Regions from separate parts of the Homo sapiens genome. Here region 2 is linked to region 1. Evidence: promoter capture Hi-C in 16 types of primary human blood cells and fetal thymus (Javierre and others, 2016). All regions are on one chromosome and are shown on one strand. Each heading gives the region's core, a stretch centred on a gene start or on the middle of the fragment in contact. The rest is flanking DNA. Distances are from core to core; before and after follow the strand shown. Region 1 holds the start of LOC107984515 (a long non-coding RNA gene). Region 2 holds the start of ITGA5 (integrin subunit alpha 5).

What was found. Contacts are between HindIII fragments. The CHiCAGO score rates a contact against its expected background, and 5 or more counts as called.
Region 2: a contact is called between the fragment with the promoter of ITGA5 here and a fragment that was not itself captured in region 1, in 1 of 17 cell types (non-activated CD4 T cells). The highest score is 5.4, in non-activated CD4 T cells.

What each region holds. Positions count from the first base shown.
Region 1 is chr12:54,982,687-54,990,196 of GRCh38, forward strand. LOC107984515 (a long non-coding RNA gene) reads left to right here and starts at 2,165. Exons shown (of 2, transcript XR_001749161.2): 1 at 2,165-2,279. TESPA1 (thymocyte expressed, positive selection associated 1) reads right to left here and starts at 2,076. Exons shown (of 11, transcript NM_001136030.3): 1 at 1,899-2,076. The HindIII fragment of the contact is 7,487 bases long and covers 2,518-7,510 here.
Region 2 is chr12:54,415,847-54,423,356 of GRCh38, forward strand. ITGA5 (integrin subunit alpha 5) reads right to left here and starts at 3,420. Exons shown (of 30, transcript NM_002205.5): 1 at 3,135-3,420. The coding sequence starts at 3,352. All of the region lies in intron 2 of GPR84-AS1 (GPR84, ZNF385A, ITGA5 and GTSF1 antisense RNA 1), which reads left to right. The HindIII fragment of the contact is 3,058 bases long and covers 966-4,023 here.

The DNA of each region.
Region 1 (7,510 bases), core at 5,011-7,510:
TTATAGATGGCTTCATCAAGAGAAAGTAGGGAGAATGAGCAGATTTCTCAACCATTGTGTTAGCTCTGTGAATTCGTATCTTTAATTCTTCAGTTTCATTTCCTTGGTAATAAGCTCTGTCCTGCATATATTCATTTTTCTTCTTTCCTGCTTTTCTTTTTCAATATCTACACACTCTCTTCTCCTCGTCCCTCTACTTATTTGACTGAACTCTTTTCTCAATCTGAAATCTGTGTTTAGGCCATTCTGCATCAGGCCTGGGTGTTGTAAGGCACACAGTACTGTGGGTACTGGAATATCCACTTTGGTCTTGTGCCTTAGGTGGAAAAGAGAACAGTTGTCAGTTTGCAGGTGGAAATAAACGTGTGATCTTTTCCCCTTACTGTAGCCCAGAAGGAATCTTGTAAGTCACAGCATTGGCTGAGACGAGACCTCCATACTAGAATCCAAATCAAACATTGAACTGAAAATGACGGTTGGGGCTTCATGTTCACTACATAATGCTGAATCGCAGGGTTCCATCTTAATTTTCAAAAAACCCAAGAGTTATGAGAACATGTTGGTAGCGTGGTTGTAAATGGTTTCTAAACACCCTGGGGTGCATGCGAATAACTCAGATGTTAAATTGCTTTCTATCCCTTCTGCTATATCTTCAGCTTGTTATTTCTGATAATAGTCCAAGTAGAGACAGACAATAAACCTGACTTCCCTTCTTCCTACTAACACTTCATGCTGCAAGACAATATTGTGAGATCTTTATCTCTAATCACTCAGCTGAACAACTATTGAGTCTGATACTTGGACACACAAGTTGAAGGTTCCTACCTCCAACCTCCCATCCTAGGTACTGCCCTGCACCATCTAGAAAGTCTCCTTACCTCTCTACTCAGGACCATTTGTGGTATACAGAGTCACTAGTACTTCCCTGGATATCTCCTGTAAATGCTCACAGTCTTGTCAAATCACTTCTGTGGAACTCTCCTTTCTTGTCCTTGCCCTGCCCTGGGGACCCACCCTTTTTCTTCCACCCACTGGTGAGCTTAGTGGCACAGAAGGGGCATGGGAAAACCCCAGGGTGGAGGATCTTTCCACTCCTCCATCTACCCCAAAACTCATGTAGGTGGTGATATGCTCTGCCTGCTACCACTGGGGCAAGGGGTGTTGGAGGAGCATGAAGCCCCCAATATTATGTAGGTCACTGAGAAGGCAACACATCCATCTATCTATCTTTGAGATGTGAACCCTGAAATCTGGTCCTGATGGTGGCTATCCATCTATCTTGAGCCTCCCGGTGAATTTGACCTTACCTCACTCAAGTGTGTACATCCTCCCTCGTAGCTGACCTCAATATATCTTGCTGCAGTTTATCTCAACAAGTTTCTTCTACAGCTTCTGAAGAAAGAGGTCATACCCACAGAAAGCAAAGTTGATTTCAGCCAGGTACTCTCAATGGTTGGAGCTATGGACACTAGAGTAGGGCCTGAAATGAAACCGGGAAACTTCTTCCTTGAGAACTTTTCGATGTTATAATCAGATGGAAATTGCAGCAACAATGAGTTCAGCAAGACACAGAGAAGAACTTTGCAGGTGAGAAAGGTGAAAAAAAATTCCTAAAATGTTATTCAAGTCATCAAAGAGACCCAAGTTTTGAGAATCTAGAAAGATTACCTCTCTGATAATAAAGAGAAAACAAACAAACGAAAGCAAAAGGGCACCCAGCATCGTTCTCCTAGGCATAATGATGGATGCTTTTAAGGTTGAAGTAAGAGTGGTGGGAGATTTTCTCTTGATTTTCCCTTGACTTGACAGCCTGATTTTTCTCTGACATGTTTCCTTCTTTCTCCTAGCATCACCCTAAATCAGTACAGCCTTGAAACTGAGATAAAGGCTGTGCTTACCTGTCTGCTGGTAGAAAGCTGAGTTTGAGGCAAAGCAGTTGTCGAAGCTGGGCCGAGGCCTTCACAGGTGTGGGCACAGAGGTGAAGCAAGTGAGAAAGTATCATGTTGTAGATTATGCCTTTCTCCCTGAACTCATTCAACTGCTGTTGCCTGCTCAAAAGGGGAAGCGGAAATGAGAACACACCACACACACACACATCCACACATGTAGATGCAGTCCCCGCCTCCTGGCCCAGCCACATCCTTTGCTCCGGCTCAGGAGACTGAGCGAAGGACAAACCATCCGTAGACACGGTGCTCACAACTAGGAAGACCTTCCTGCCCCAGAGCTGCCTCTGTCTTTCCAGAAAAACAGGAGATCTTTTCCTATTAAGGCAAAGGTACAGTCCATTTAAAGAGGTGTGTGCAGGAGTCTTCCTACCATATAACTAGAATTCCACTGCTGCAGATAAATCCTTCTGTCCTCAGGAGAGCTGTCTGAAAATGGGAAAGCTCTCTCTCATAAATGATCTGGCGTTTATCTCAGAGAAGAAGTTTCCAGTCGTATCACACACTTGAGAGGGCTCTGAGCCAGTCGCTCTGTGTTGATAACTTTCATACTCTGGTAAATTCCCCCGAAGCTTGTTTTTGAATACTGACTACTTTTTTTTTCTGTTAGTTTCTTAACTTTGTTTTATGTTCAAACCACTTCAAAGTTTTTGTTTTTGTAGTAAATGACTGCTTTCCCCAACGTTTTCAAAGCTGAACTTTTAAAATCGGTTACACCCTGAAGATGTCTTCAGTTTATTGGTTTTCAGTTTGGAAAAGGCTTGTTGAACTCTAAAAGGTTTCTCCCAGGCCTCAATCACTTTCACCCACCGGGAGCATCCAGCACTGCTAACTATCCCTCCTCGCTTCTCCAGTATCTCTGAACACTCTTCTCCGTAGGATGCTGCTGCATTTTGGATATCTTCTTTCTGTCTCTCTCCTGATTCTACTGTTTCCTTCTTTAAATCATTTATTTATGAATGTATATCACAATATTTATTCTACAAGGCACTCCTCTAATGTGTTAATTGTGACTGATTTTCACATGTTCATTACCTTCTTTCTGATTTTTTGGCTATAGGTATAGTTAGATTTTTTTTTTACCATGTTTCTAAATTCCATTTCCAATCATCAATGGGACAACTCCATTGAGTATCCATAGTATAGCTATAATATGGTAGAAATAATCCTAAATAAAATTCTTGCTTGGCAAATTAAGTTCTCAAAACATTATTTTCTTCAAGTATAATGTGAGGAAAATAACAATTCTCTCTGTTTCTCACTCAACCCTTCTCCCACGCTATTCCTTTTACGTAGGCATGAAAATATCTAACATATTTTCTCAGGACATAGTAGATGCTAAATATGTGCTTCTCTGAGAATTAGCTTCACAGTCAACAAGTAAAATGCTAAATCCAACACGCCCTAATTCTCTTTATTTACTATTCTTTTCCGTACAAATTAACTATAAAAGCTGAACTAATGGAAACTTAACAACTCTTTTAAATCCTAAGTTTCTAGAATTCAATGTTTTCCTTAACAGTTGTTTTCCAATATGTTTGGGAAATGGAGAATATAACTTCGGTAGGGAGTTTGGAAATATGTGAGAGAGATTTAATTTTCAAAGAAATGGGAAGCTGATACTGGTATTTAGTACCTGAGGGCCAATGATGATAAGTGCTTTTGAAGGGATGGGACTCTTCAGTATAAGGAATAATTGTCCTGGCCCAAATGTCAACATTTTGTTAACATTGATAGTTTGATGGTTAGGAGAGCAGGCTTTAGAGTGAAGCTCTGGCATCAAGTAGCTCTGTAGTCTTGGATACGTTAACATCTCTAGGTCTCAGTTTGTTAGCTGCTAAATGGGGATAACCTTACAGGAGTGGTTGTAGAGCTATAAGAATAAAGGAATACAGAGTATTCAGTCCAGCGCCTACCTTACAGCAAATGCTCAAGAAATTGCAGCTATTTTTAAGACTCTTGAAATATAATAGTTTCTTTTAACTTTTATTTTAAGTTCAGTGGTACATGTGCAAGTTTGTTACATAGGTAAACTCCTGTCATAGGGGTTTGTTGTACAGATTATTTCATCACCCAGGTATTAAGCCTAGTACCCAATAGGTATTTGTTTTGATCCTCTCCCTCCTTCCACCCTCTACCCTCCCATAGGCCCCAGTGTGTGTTGTTTCCCTCTATGTGTCCATGTGTTCTCATCATTTAGCTCCCACTTATAGGTGAGAACATGCGGTATTTGGTTTTCTGTTCCTGTGTTAGTTTGCTAAGGATAATGGCCTCCAGCTCCATCCATGTTGCTGCAAAGGACATGATCTCATTCTTTTTTATGGCTGCATAGTATTCCATGGTGTATATGTGCCACATTTTCTTTATCCAGTCTATCATCACTGGGCATTTGGGTTGATTCCATGTCTTTGCTATTGTGAATAGTGTTGCAGCAAACATACATGTGCTCGTGTCTTTATAACAGAATGATTTATATTCCTCCAGGTATATACTCGGTAATGGGATTGCTGAGTCTAAAGATATTTCTGTTTTTAGGTCTTTGAGCAATCGCCACATTGTCTTCCACAAGGGTTGAACTAATTTACACTCCCGCCAACAGTGTATAAACATTCCTTTTCCTCTGCCACCTCGCCAACATCTTTTATTTTTTGACTTTTTAATAATAGCCATTCTGAGTAGTGTGAGATGGTATCTCATTGTGGTTTTGATTTGCATGAAATATAATATTTTCAGTTTCTGCAGAATACTATGTCTATCTGTCAAAATTACCTCACTCATTAAAGATACCATTTCACAAGCAATTGCTAGAGATTTTTTTGTTAATAAAAAAGATGTATTAATTTTTGGTTTTTATTTATATTTATTCTTAATTTTTATGAGTACATATGTAGGTTTATATGTTTATAGTATTTGTGATTTATTTTTTGAAAGAAATATTTTTCTCTTCTACAAGCAGCTTCTGAAAGACAAAGATGAAGACTATATGATTCCTAGGAGGAGGAGGCGGCCCAGGGTATTCCTCTGTTTATCTTCTTTCTCAGTTGTATAGTCTTTCTCTTTCTTTCTTTGTTTCTTTCCTTCTTTCCCTTCCTTCCTTCCATTCCTTTTCCTTCCTTCCTTCCTTCCTTCCTTCTTTCCTTCCTTCCCTCCTTTCCTCCTTCCCCTTTCTCTTTTTTCCCTCTCACCTGCCCTTCCCACCCTTTGAAAACATTGTCTCTATATCTTTGGCACCATGAACTTCTCTGAGCATATATTCCAGGTGCTTCATGAAAACAAAATGACTTGTTCTTTTTATACGAGACGCAGTAGTTCAGGGTTTCTGAAGGTTTTTTTGTGAGCTTGTTCATTTTTTTTCCCTTGGTTAAAAATAAAAACCCTTATGCTAACTGAGATAATGAATTAGCTCTCTACTGCCTATGTGATTCAGCAGTTTGGTGCCTCATGATAGGGCCTATTTGTCATTCCATGGCTCCCTCTCTTGTGTTTTATAGAATTTAGTAAAAACCCTGAACTAGGGGTAAAAGAGCAATCTGAGTTTAAAACTATACTAGTTACTTAATTTCACTGGATATCGGTATCACCTTCTGACAGAGAAATATTTTCTAAGATCCTCTTGGCTTTAGATGTCAGTAACACCTGTACAGACTATTTTTCTCTACCCTTTTATAACTGCATGTAGTTTATTATGGAAAATGAAAATATTAAGTGATATTTGGTAAGAAATTATTATAAAGGTATTAGAAAAAGTATTTTGAAAGACTCTTTTCCATTGAAAAGCCAAGTAAATATTGCTTTTGAATAATATTATCCTCTAGACATGTAACCTGATAACACTGATAAATAAGAACAATTTCTGAACACTGATGAGCCCATCAAACAGATGGGCTGTAGTGAGTATAAGTTCTGGAGCTGCAGAACTACAGGCTGAGCTGGCAGGTTGCCCAGACCTGGGGCAGAGCCAGGACAGCTGTCCATAGAGGCTGTCCCAAGACAGAGAAGCTGCTGCTCAGAGCCACTGCTCTGGGCCGAGCAGCTGGGCCCCTCTGCCCAGGCCCAGATGCAAATCATCTGCCTCCATTTCAGCTCTCAACCTTCTTCTTTCTCAGATCCTGGGGTTTGCAAATGCCATTTTTGTTTTGTTTTGTTTGGCTGTTTTGTTTTTTTTGCTAAGAGTCTGTTCCTCCAAATTGCTGATGTGGGAATTTGAGTGACTTTGTCTCCTTCCTGTACCAAAGGCTCAAAAGTAGAAAGAGAGAGTGGATAGAATTGTAGGGGAGAGAGCAGTGATTTAACTCACCAAGGATTTTCTGAACTTTCTCCAGGCAGAAAAGTGTCCACCAAGGTCATCTTGTTCTTTTCTCTGCTTCTATGTTCTGGTTGTTAAGGATACAAACAAATGGGATTCTCTAACTTTTCTAACCTACCCATTCTACTAAATTACTCCACTCAATGCCAGAAAGTTCTTCCTTCTGTCTGGCTGTATCTTCCCTCTGTAAGAGTCCAGCAAAACAGAAGAGCAATCCATCTCAGGCCTCTGCAGAGGGTGTTCTTTCAGTGATCTGGATTGTAATTCTACCCAAAATGTATTTTATTGGATACCTTCTGAGTGTCAGAAATGAGATAGATCTGGGGAAGGGACTGAGGGGAGTATAGAAGGAGAGGAAGATATACAAGGGGGAGAAACAGTATCAAATACTGTCCCTTAGAGGGCTTATTTTCTAGTATGATCAAGTAATTTGGGGAAATACAGGGTTAACAAAAGACAAACATGTTCCTTTAAGGCAGTGGTCCCCAACCTTTTGGCATCAAGGACTGGTTTCATGGAAGACAATTTTTCCATGGGAGCAGGGTGAGGGGGAGGGTTTGGCGATGAAACTGTTCCACTTCAGATGATCATGCCTGCCACTCACCTTCCTGCTGTGAGGCCAGGTTCCTAACAGGCAACCAAACTGTGCTGGTCTGTGGTCCAGGGGTTGAGGCCCCCTGCTTTAAGGCATAACTTCTTGAGGCTTTTAATAGATTAACATGAATTGTGACTCTCCTAGAAGGAGAAAGTTTTGTATTTCCCAAATGTATTGGCCTATGGATTCCCCTGCCCTCCCCTCCCCTCCCCTCTCCTTCCCTACCCTTCCCTTATCTTTCCTTCCTTCCTTGGAACATCCCAAGGAAATTATTTTGGAAAAGTTTTCTTCCACTACAGCCACTTCTCTGGATTAAATCGTGACATTAACATCTTTGATTATATTCAGATGGCTATGAACACAGGATTGAATTCTCAGTGAGCCTATGTTTCATCTTTCTTTTGATCAAGCCCATTTAACTCAGAATCACAGGTCTTAATTGAGTTCTTCTGTGTGATTTGCATGGTGAGTGCTCAGTGTTTTGTAAGCCCATGGAGGAGGACAGAGCCTGGATGTGGGTGTAAGTGCAGTGGAGGAGGAGAGATCTGAGGGTTTCATAGGATGGGAGGCAGGAGACTTTCAGGGCTAGAGAGAGATCTATCAAGAAAAATCTCATGGACTTGACAAACAAGAAATGTGGAAGAGTTTTAAAACTTGATCTC
Region 2 (7,510 bases), core at 2,170-4,669, 570 kb before region 1:
GTCTCCACTTGTGGCAGTTGCAGAAGGGAACAAGGAGCTGAGCTGAGACTGGCCTGCCTCTCAAGCTTTCAAGTGTCCTGGGCCAAGTCACTGCCTCTCTTCAAGCTTTGGATTCTCTGGCATAAAATGATGGATTTCCCTTGAATGTTTCCTAAACTAACTTCTGGTTCAAAATTTCTATGACTCCTGAAGCCTCAGTTGTTTTTATTTTTTGTTTGTTTGTTGTTGTTTTTTTGAGATGGAGTCTCACTCTGTCGCCCAGTCTGGGGTCGCTCAGTACAGATGTGATCTCAGCTCACTGCAATCTCTGCCTCCCAGGTTCAAGGGATTCTCCTGCCTCAGTTTCCCGAGTAGCTGGGATTACAGGTGCGTGCCAGCACGCTCGGCTAATTTTTTTATTTTTAGTAGAGATGGGGTTTCACCATGTTGGCCAGGCTGGTCTCGAACTCCTGACCTCAGGTGATCCACCCACCTCCGCCTCCCAAAGTGCTGGCATTACAGGCGTGAGCCACTGCACCTGGCCAGCCTCAGTTTTTGTATATCTAAAAATGGGGCAATAATGCTTCCTTTGCTTTAACACAAGGATTTTTGTTACAATCCAATGGAAAAATCGATATGAAAGTGCTAAAGGAATATGACAGACTATTGTTACTATCACTAGTATAAGCAAATACTCAAAGCAAGTAAGAAATGAGGGAACTAGGCGGTAGCCAGGAAGGAGAGAACCAGAAACAGAAACAGCTACCCCATAAAAACCATGCCGCCCATGTATTGATCACTCTCTGTGGACCAGGTTCCTTTTGTATATGTTTTCTCATTTAGTCCTCAGAACTCCGTTAGTCAGGTGTCTGATTTTCACGGGAAGACCAGGCTCCAAGAGCTTAAATACCTCTCCCTAGGTACTAGGGTACCACGCAAAAAACTAGTAAGTAGTGGGGACTCACACCTACCTCTGTCTGACTGAAAGCTTTGCCCTTTCCTACCATCTAACTGCTTTGGTGCTCGCCCTGTCCTTTAATACTATTTTGGTGTTCACCACAAGAGGTGATGCAGGAAGAACAAGAACACTGAGGCTCTCCCTCTTTGGCAATGGCTGTAGGTGAGGGGCTGTGTTTGTCTTGTGTTGTGGGAAAGGGGGTGAAGGCCTAGCTGTGGTGGGAGGAGGTCACTGGGGAGGTAGAATGTTCCACTGTAAGAGGGTATTGTAAATAGGAAATGAGAGGGAAGGAGTGCAAGCTGGACACCTGGGTTCTCTTGGGAGGGGAGATGAGCAGAAGGGGAGGGGGAAGGGATGAGAGAGCTAGGTCCTGTTTTAGAAGAGGACTTTAGGGACTACAGGATCAGGCCAGGGGCCAGACAGACACCTAGGGGACCAGGAATGTGTGAAGTCCAGATGTTTTAGAGGAGTGTTTTAAAGGGAAATTTAGGGGAGGGGGGAGTAAAGAGAAGGTTAAATGCCAGACAACTAGATACTCTGATCTGCGGGAGGAGACCTCATCCCCTTCCTCCTTCCCTCTTTTCTACTCCATTAGGGCTGTGATAAGAAGTTTGAGGGAACCTGGGGGAGACCAGGCCTGGCAGAGGCTCCAGGCCAGGGTGATGATGCAATGGGGTTTGGGCAAAAGGCCAGGGGGGTGGGGTGGGGGTTGGGTGGGGACCTTGAATAGCCCAGAACAACAGTCGGGGCCTAATCATTTTTCTTTTCTCCCATCCCCAAGTCCTCCAGACAAAGGAGAATTTGCCTTTCTCCCCAGTTGTATTAGCTAGATTAACCCCTTTTCTCCAAAAACTATAGGGACTGAGTAGAGATCAGTTAACTGTCTCATGTGTAAAAACAGGTCGCTTCTGACAGAATTCCCCTCAAACCCTGAGATCCTGGGGTTGGGGTGGGGGTGAGCAGTAGGAAGCTCCCAGCTCAGAGATGTAGAAGAAAAAGGATTACACCAGTCATTGTGGAGGACCAGGAATCTGGCATCTATGGCCTAGCCCAGGAGCAACCACCTACCTCTCTTGCTTCCCAATCTCCCCGCCATCCCACATTTAAACAGACACCCTTGGTTCTAATGTTGCTTCCACTCTAACTCCTGTTTCCCAAGCCTGTCAGTACCCCATTTTCTAGGCACTCGGGGTCCGGGTCTGCTTATCACTGTGCTGAGTTGGGAATAAGGATCCTCCTTTGAGATTTCCAGGGTCCTGAGTCCTTCATTCTGACGTTCTTGGCCCCACGGAGCCCCCGTCTCCCCAGCTTCCGACCCCAGCCCCAGAAGTCCCGGTCTCAGCACAGCTCCAGCCGACCAGCTACAGGAAACCAGCTTTTCTCTTCCTCCCAAGAGCCAGAGGAAGAGGGAAACCGCCCACCCCCCTTCACGCGCGCACACACCCCTCCCGACACATCCCAGCACCCGCCCTTGGCTGAGTTCGCCCCCAGCCCCAGGGCCCCAGTGCCAGGGTCCCCGCACTCGCCCCCAGTTCTCGGATCCCCTCGCCTGAACAGAGATTGGGGGCGGAGGGAGGAGTAGGAGACAGAGGAGAAAGGAGAGGGAGCCGCCGTCCTCTCTCGGGTCTTTCCCCGGTCTGAGTTGAGGGGGGAGGGGAGGATGAGGCTGGCCCCCATTTAACCTTCCGACCCCCTCAGTCTTTGACTTTCCTCCTACTACACGTAGCTCATTCGGCTTCTACCCGTTCTCTCGCCGCACAATGGCCCCTACGGATCCCGAGGTCTCCTGGAGCCCCCAAAAGCCCTTCCCGGCCTCTGCGCCCCCTCTGCGCCCCCACCCGCCCCAGGTCCCAGCAGCCCACAGACTTCAGCCAGAGACCCTCAGCTCTCCATTCACGCGCTCTCCTCTCCCTTGGCCCGGAGACCCCTGCCCAGACTTCTCCAGCTCCGTGTCCTCTCCCCACCGGACACATGTCTCCCCACTGATCTCAAACGCCAGGGCCCCTCCTCACCCGCCACGGTGCCCTCCCTACTCCAGCGCGGGCCCCCAACTCTAGCCAGGGCCCCCAACTGCAGCTCTATTCCTTACAAACTCCACCCTCAAACTTAAGCCCTGGTCCCCTCCAGACCCCAGCCGCGCCCCCAGTCTCCAGGCGGCTCCCCCACCCCCATCCCGTCTCCAGCCCTCCTCACTCACCCGTCTGTTCCCGGCCGGTAAAACTCCACTGAGAATCCGAAGAAGGAGCCCGGGGGCCCCGAGAGTACTGCTGGGGCCTCCGCGTCTAAGTTGAAGCCCCCGACCCTGGGTGGCGGCGGCAGCAGCAGCAACAGCAGCGGCAGCAGCGGGGGTCGGCGCCGGGGGCCCCAGCGCAGCTGCACGGCGTGGAGAGGGGACTCTGGCGTCCGGCTCCCCATAGCGCCCGCTCTTCCCTGTCCTGGGGCCACCGACCCGGAGCCGCTTCCTAAACCTCCCAGAGGCGAATGACTCAACGCGGGGAGGAGTTTGCCAAACTCCCGGCTGAGCCCTCCCCCCGCCTGCCGAGGGGGCTGGCGGGGGGGCATTCCTGGGTCCCTGGAACTCTGAGCCCGCGTCCCCCACCCCTAAGGGGCGTGGGGGGGGGGCGCACCCCTCCAACCCCCTTTCCCCAGCCCCAGCTGGAAGCCGGTTGTCTGGACTGGGTTAGACTGGGCGGGTTTGGGTTCTTCCCCCTCCTCTCTGCTTCCCCCTCCTTCCTCCCCATTCCTTTCCAGATGTACAACGTAAACGCTCGGAAAACGAGTCGGAAAAGGGAGCGGAGAATTTCCTAATGAGGAAAGGAATCACCTCTGGTGGGCGGAGGAAGCCTGTATATGTGTGTGGGGTCTCCCTCAGTGCTTTAGGGAGGAGACTTTGGGGTCTAAAGAGACAGGAGACTCCTCTGGCGTCCGGCCAACTGGGATTCCCCCTTGCCTTCCGGGGCCGCCGGGTGCCTGGGTTCTGGCCAGCTGGATTTGGGACACAACAGTTGAGGTACAGAGACAGCGTTCGCAGTCAGCTTGCTAGAGGACCTACACGGGCTCCTCAAGTTCCGCTGCTTCCTCCTCCAAGCTTGCTAGTATTGAAAACCCAGGAGTTTGGGGTCATTCATCAGGAGGATTCTGCTCCAGTTTGCCCCCTTCTTGGTCCTAGGGTATGTAAACCTCTGCTGAGCCCCTTCCTTGGATCTGACAGTTGACCAAAAGCCTGCGAGTGGCTGGCCCCTCAGTACCTGCTTGATTAAACTGGCCGGGTTCCTACAAACCTGGAGAATTGTGAGAGGTGGTGGTGGTGGTGGAAAGTCTTGCAAAGGGACCCAACCTTCAGCTCCTAATGGCTGTAAACGCTGGGAGCTCTGGCCAGGCACGGTGGCTCACACCTGTAATCCCAGCACTTTGGGATGCCGAGGTGAGCAGATCACCTGAGGCCAGGAGTTCAAGACCAGCCTGGCCAACATGGCAAAACCCATCTCCACTAAAAATACAAAAATTATCCAGATGTGGTGGTCCGCACCTGTAATCCCAGCTACTCGGGAAGCTGAGGCAGGATAATTACTTGAACCCAGGAGGCAGAGACTGCAATGAGCCGCGATTGCACCACTGCACTCTAGCCTGGGTGACAGAGCAAGACTGTATCCAAAAAAAAAAAAAAAAAAAAAATCCAAAAACCAAAAACCAAAAAAACAATGGGAGCGGAAAGCCAGGACCCCATTCTTCCCAGATTCCCCTGTGGAAGTAGAGGAAGGGACTCTAGAAAGGGAAGGCAGTGACCCCCTGCCCACCTCTTCCCCAAGCTCAGGCTCTGTGTGATGAGATCACTTTTCAGGATTCTAGCCTTTATCTTAGTCTGGGGGAGGGGACTACAAGTCCTTTCAGTCTCTTTCCTCCAGGACTCCTCACTTTCCAGAATAATACCCTGTCAATAATATCCTGTCAACCCTGTCCCTTCTGTTCTCCAGTCCCCTGCCCCACTTCGGGCTGAAAGGCTCAGAATAAGAGTGCCCAGAGTCAATGTTTTTTTCCTGCCATGACTCTCCCCCTCACTCTGCTACTCCACTTCCTGTCCCAAATCACCCATCTGCTTTTTTAAAAGCCCCCCTCCAGAGCCAGCTGCAGCCCAAGGGAGAGGCTGGCTGGCCAGACTGTGGGGCAATGCTGGCCCGTATCCCATTCTCACATCTGCAAGTCCTGACCCTTTCTTAGGTGAGGAACCCAGGGAATCTCTGGGTCAGGATCTTTAAGCCCAGCATTGCCAAAAAGGCAACCTTTAGGTGAGAGCTACTCAAGCCATGGGCTGGGAACCCCCTTTGGGAGGAGAAGGGCTGAGGCCTGATTGCTTTTTAGCCCAGCAAAACACGTGTGTGAACCAAACACTCTCCTTTCTCAGTCTAGGCAAACTCTTTAGATTTTCCCAGGATTTGGGAGATTAGGGGTGGGGGTGGGGAGGGGTGCAGGGAAGGAGGTGTGTGACTCAGCTCCTCCCAGGAGCCTTGGTGGGGGACAGGGGACATAGCGTCCTGCCCCAGTCCTCCTCCCCACTCCACCCCTAGCCTTGGCCAACTCAAACAGGCCCCCTCCCTGTCCATTCCCTGCTCCTGTTTACACCGGGAGCCCCTTAGTCATTCTTTGGCTGGCCTTTCTACTCTCCCCAATATCCCTCCTCTCTTGGCTCTTTCTGCCCTTATAAGTCCTCTCCCAGTGGCCCCAACACCTCCTGCCTTTCCTCTCACCATGCCTGCCTTTGCCTGATCCTCTCTTCCTCTGCTCTGGGTTCGTCCTTAACTTGGGGTCCCCTCCTAATTAGAGCTACTTCAGCACAGACCTCCAGGCCTGGAAGCTGACCTAGAAAGGCCAGTGAGGAGGGGATAGAAGCCATCAGTCCAATCTTCTCCTTCAGAAGAGGAAATGGGTGTAGAGAGATGAAGTGATTTGTCCAGGGTCATATGGCTAGCCAGTTAGCGGTGAGCCTAGAACCTAAGTGTTTAGACTCCAGACCCAGTGCCTTCTCCTCTAAGCCCACTGCCCCTCTAAATGATCTATCTCCTCTCAGCTTTTTCTTTCTATCTTGTATATCTCTCAGCCTTTCTCTGGCCAAGTTTGTGTGTCTCCAAGTGCCTCTGCTTTTTCTCTTAAACCTGACCTCTTTGGTACCCTCTGTCCCTTCATTGCTCAGTAGGAATGATTTGCTGTGATGACTGACCATTATTAATCATGGTCTGCTTGATGGAGAGGAAGAAGGGTGAAGGGCAAGGCCAGGACACTCAGCAGGCTCCTGTTGTCGCCAGCCTGCTTGCCCTGAAGGCTGGAGTTTTAGAACCACAAGAGTGAATTTCCACAGAGGAGTTCAGGATACAGGTGCAAGTTCTAACGCCAGGGGTCATGCTGAATTTTAGTAGTGTGGAAGAGGGGTGGGGAGTACTGATAATGGTTTATTTAGCACATGCTGTATTCCTGGCCCTGGGCTTGACCTTTAATCTGCCTCTATCCCATTTATCCCAACTTATCCAGCACTGAAGGTATCATGATCCTCATTTTACTGTTAGGAAATCGAAGCCTAAAGGAGAGAAGTGACTAAGCGAAGGCCAACAGAAAGGGGCAGAGGTAAATCCAAACCCAATCCCAGTAGATTTCAGAGCCGTTGCTTTTCCCACTGCAATGTCAGCCCTGTAAACCGGCTGGGTTTCTACAGAGGTATGGGGGAAGATTCTAGAGTAGGAATTATAACCTAGATCCATTGTCCTTGGGGTGGGGTGGGGGAAGATTGGGTATACAATCCATTAATCCTCTGAAACTGGATGGAAGTTTTTGTTTATATGCATGTGATTTCTCTGGGGTGAGACTCAGTGGCTTCTTTAAGATTCTCAAATGCCTGGAAATTCTGAGAACACTAAGGCTGGATGCCTTGGTTTTAAGAAACAGACTCAGGTCTTGTTGGGCTGTAAAAAGTCTGATTGGGTAGAGGTGGTAGAGGCTGAGGTGTCCATGAAATAAAACTTCCTAGGCTGGGTGCAGTGGCTCATGCCTGTAATCCCAGCACTTTGGGAGGCCATGGTGGGTAGATCACGAGGTCAGAAGTTTGAGACTAGCTTGGCCAACATGGTGAAACCCCGTCTCTAGTAAAAATACAAAAATTAGCCACGCGTGGTGGTGGGTGCCTGTAATCCCAGCTACTTGGGAGGCTGAGGCAGGAGAATTGCTTGAACCTTGGGAGGCAGAGGTTGCAGTGACCTGAGATTGCACCATTGCACTCCAGCCTGGGTGACAGAACGAGACTCCATCTCAAAAACAAAACAAGACAAAAACAAACAAGCAAACAAAGAAGTTGGATCTCACAGAGGGAAGGAAGGTGGGATATTTAGGAAAATTATGAAGCTGAAGGCGGGGGTGGGGGGATTTCCAGAAGTAGAATAGGAGCCCAGTTATACCAGGATCCAGAGACTGCTGAAGCTGGGGAGTTGTTCTGTGTGTGTGTGCGTGTATGTCTAAGAAAGGGAAATTGGAAAGTACAGGAGTAGACCATTTGCACCCTCAGGCTCTGTTGCTTCTCTGACTCAGGTC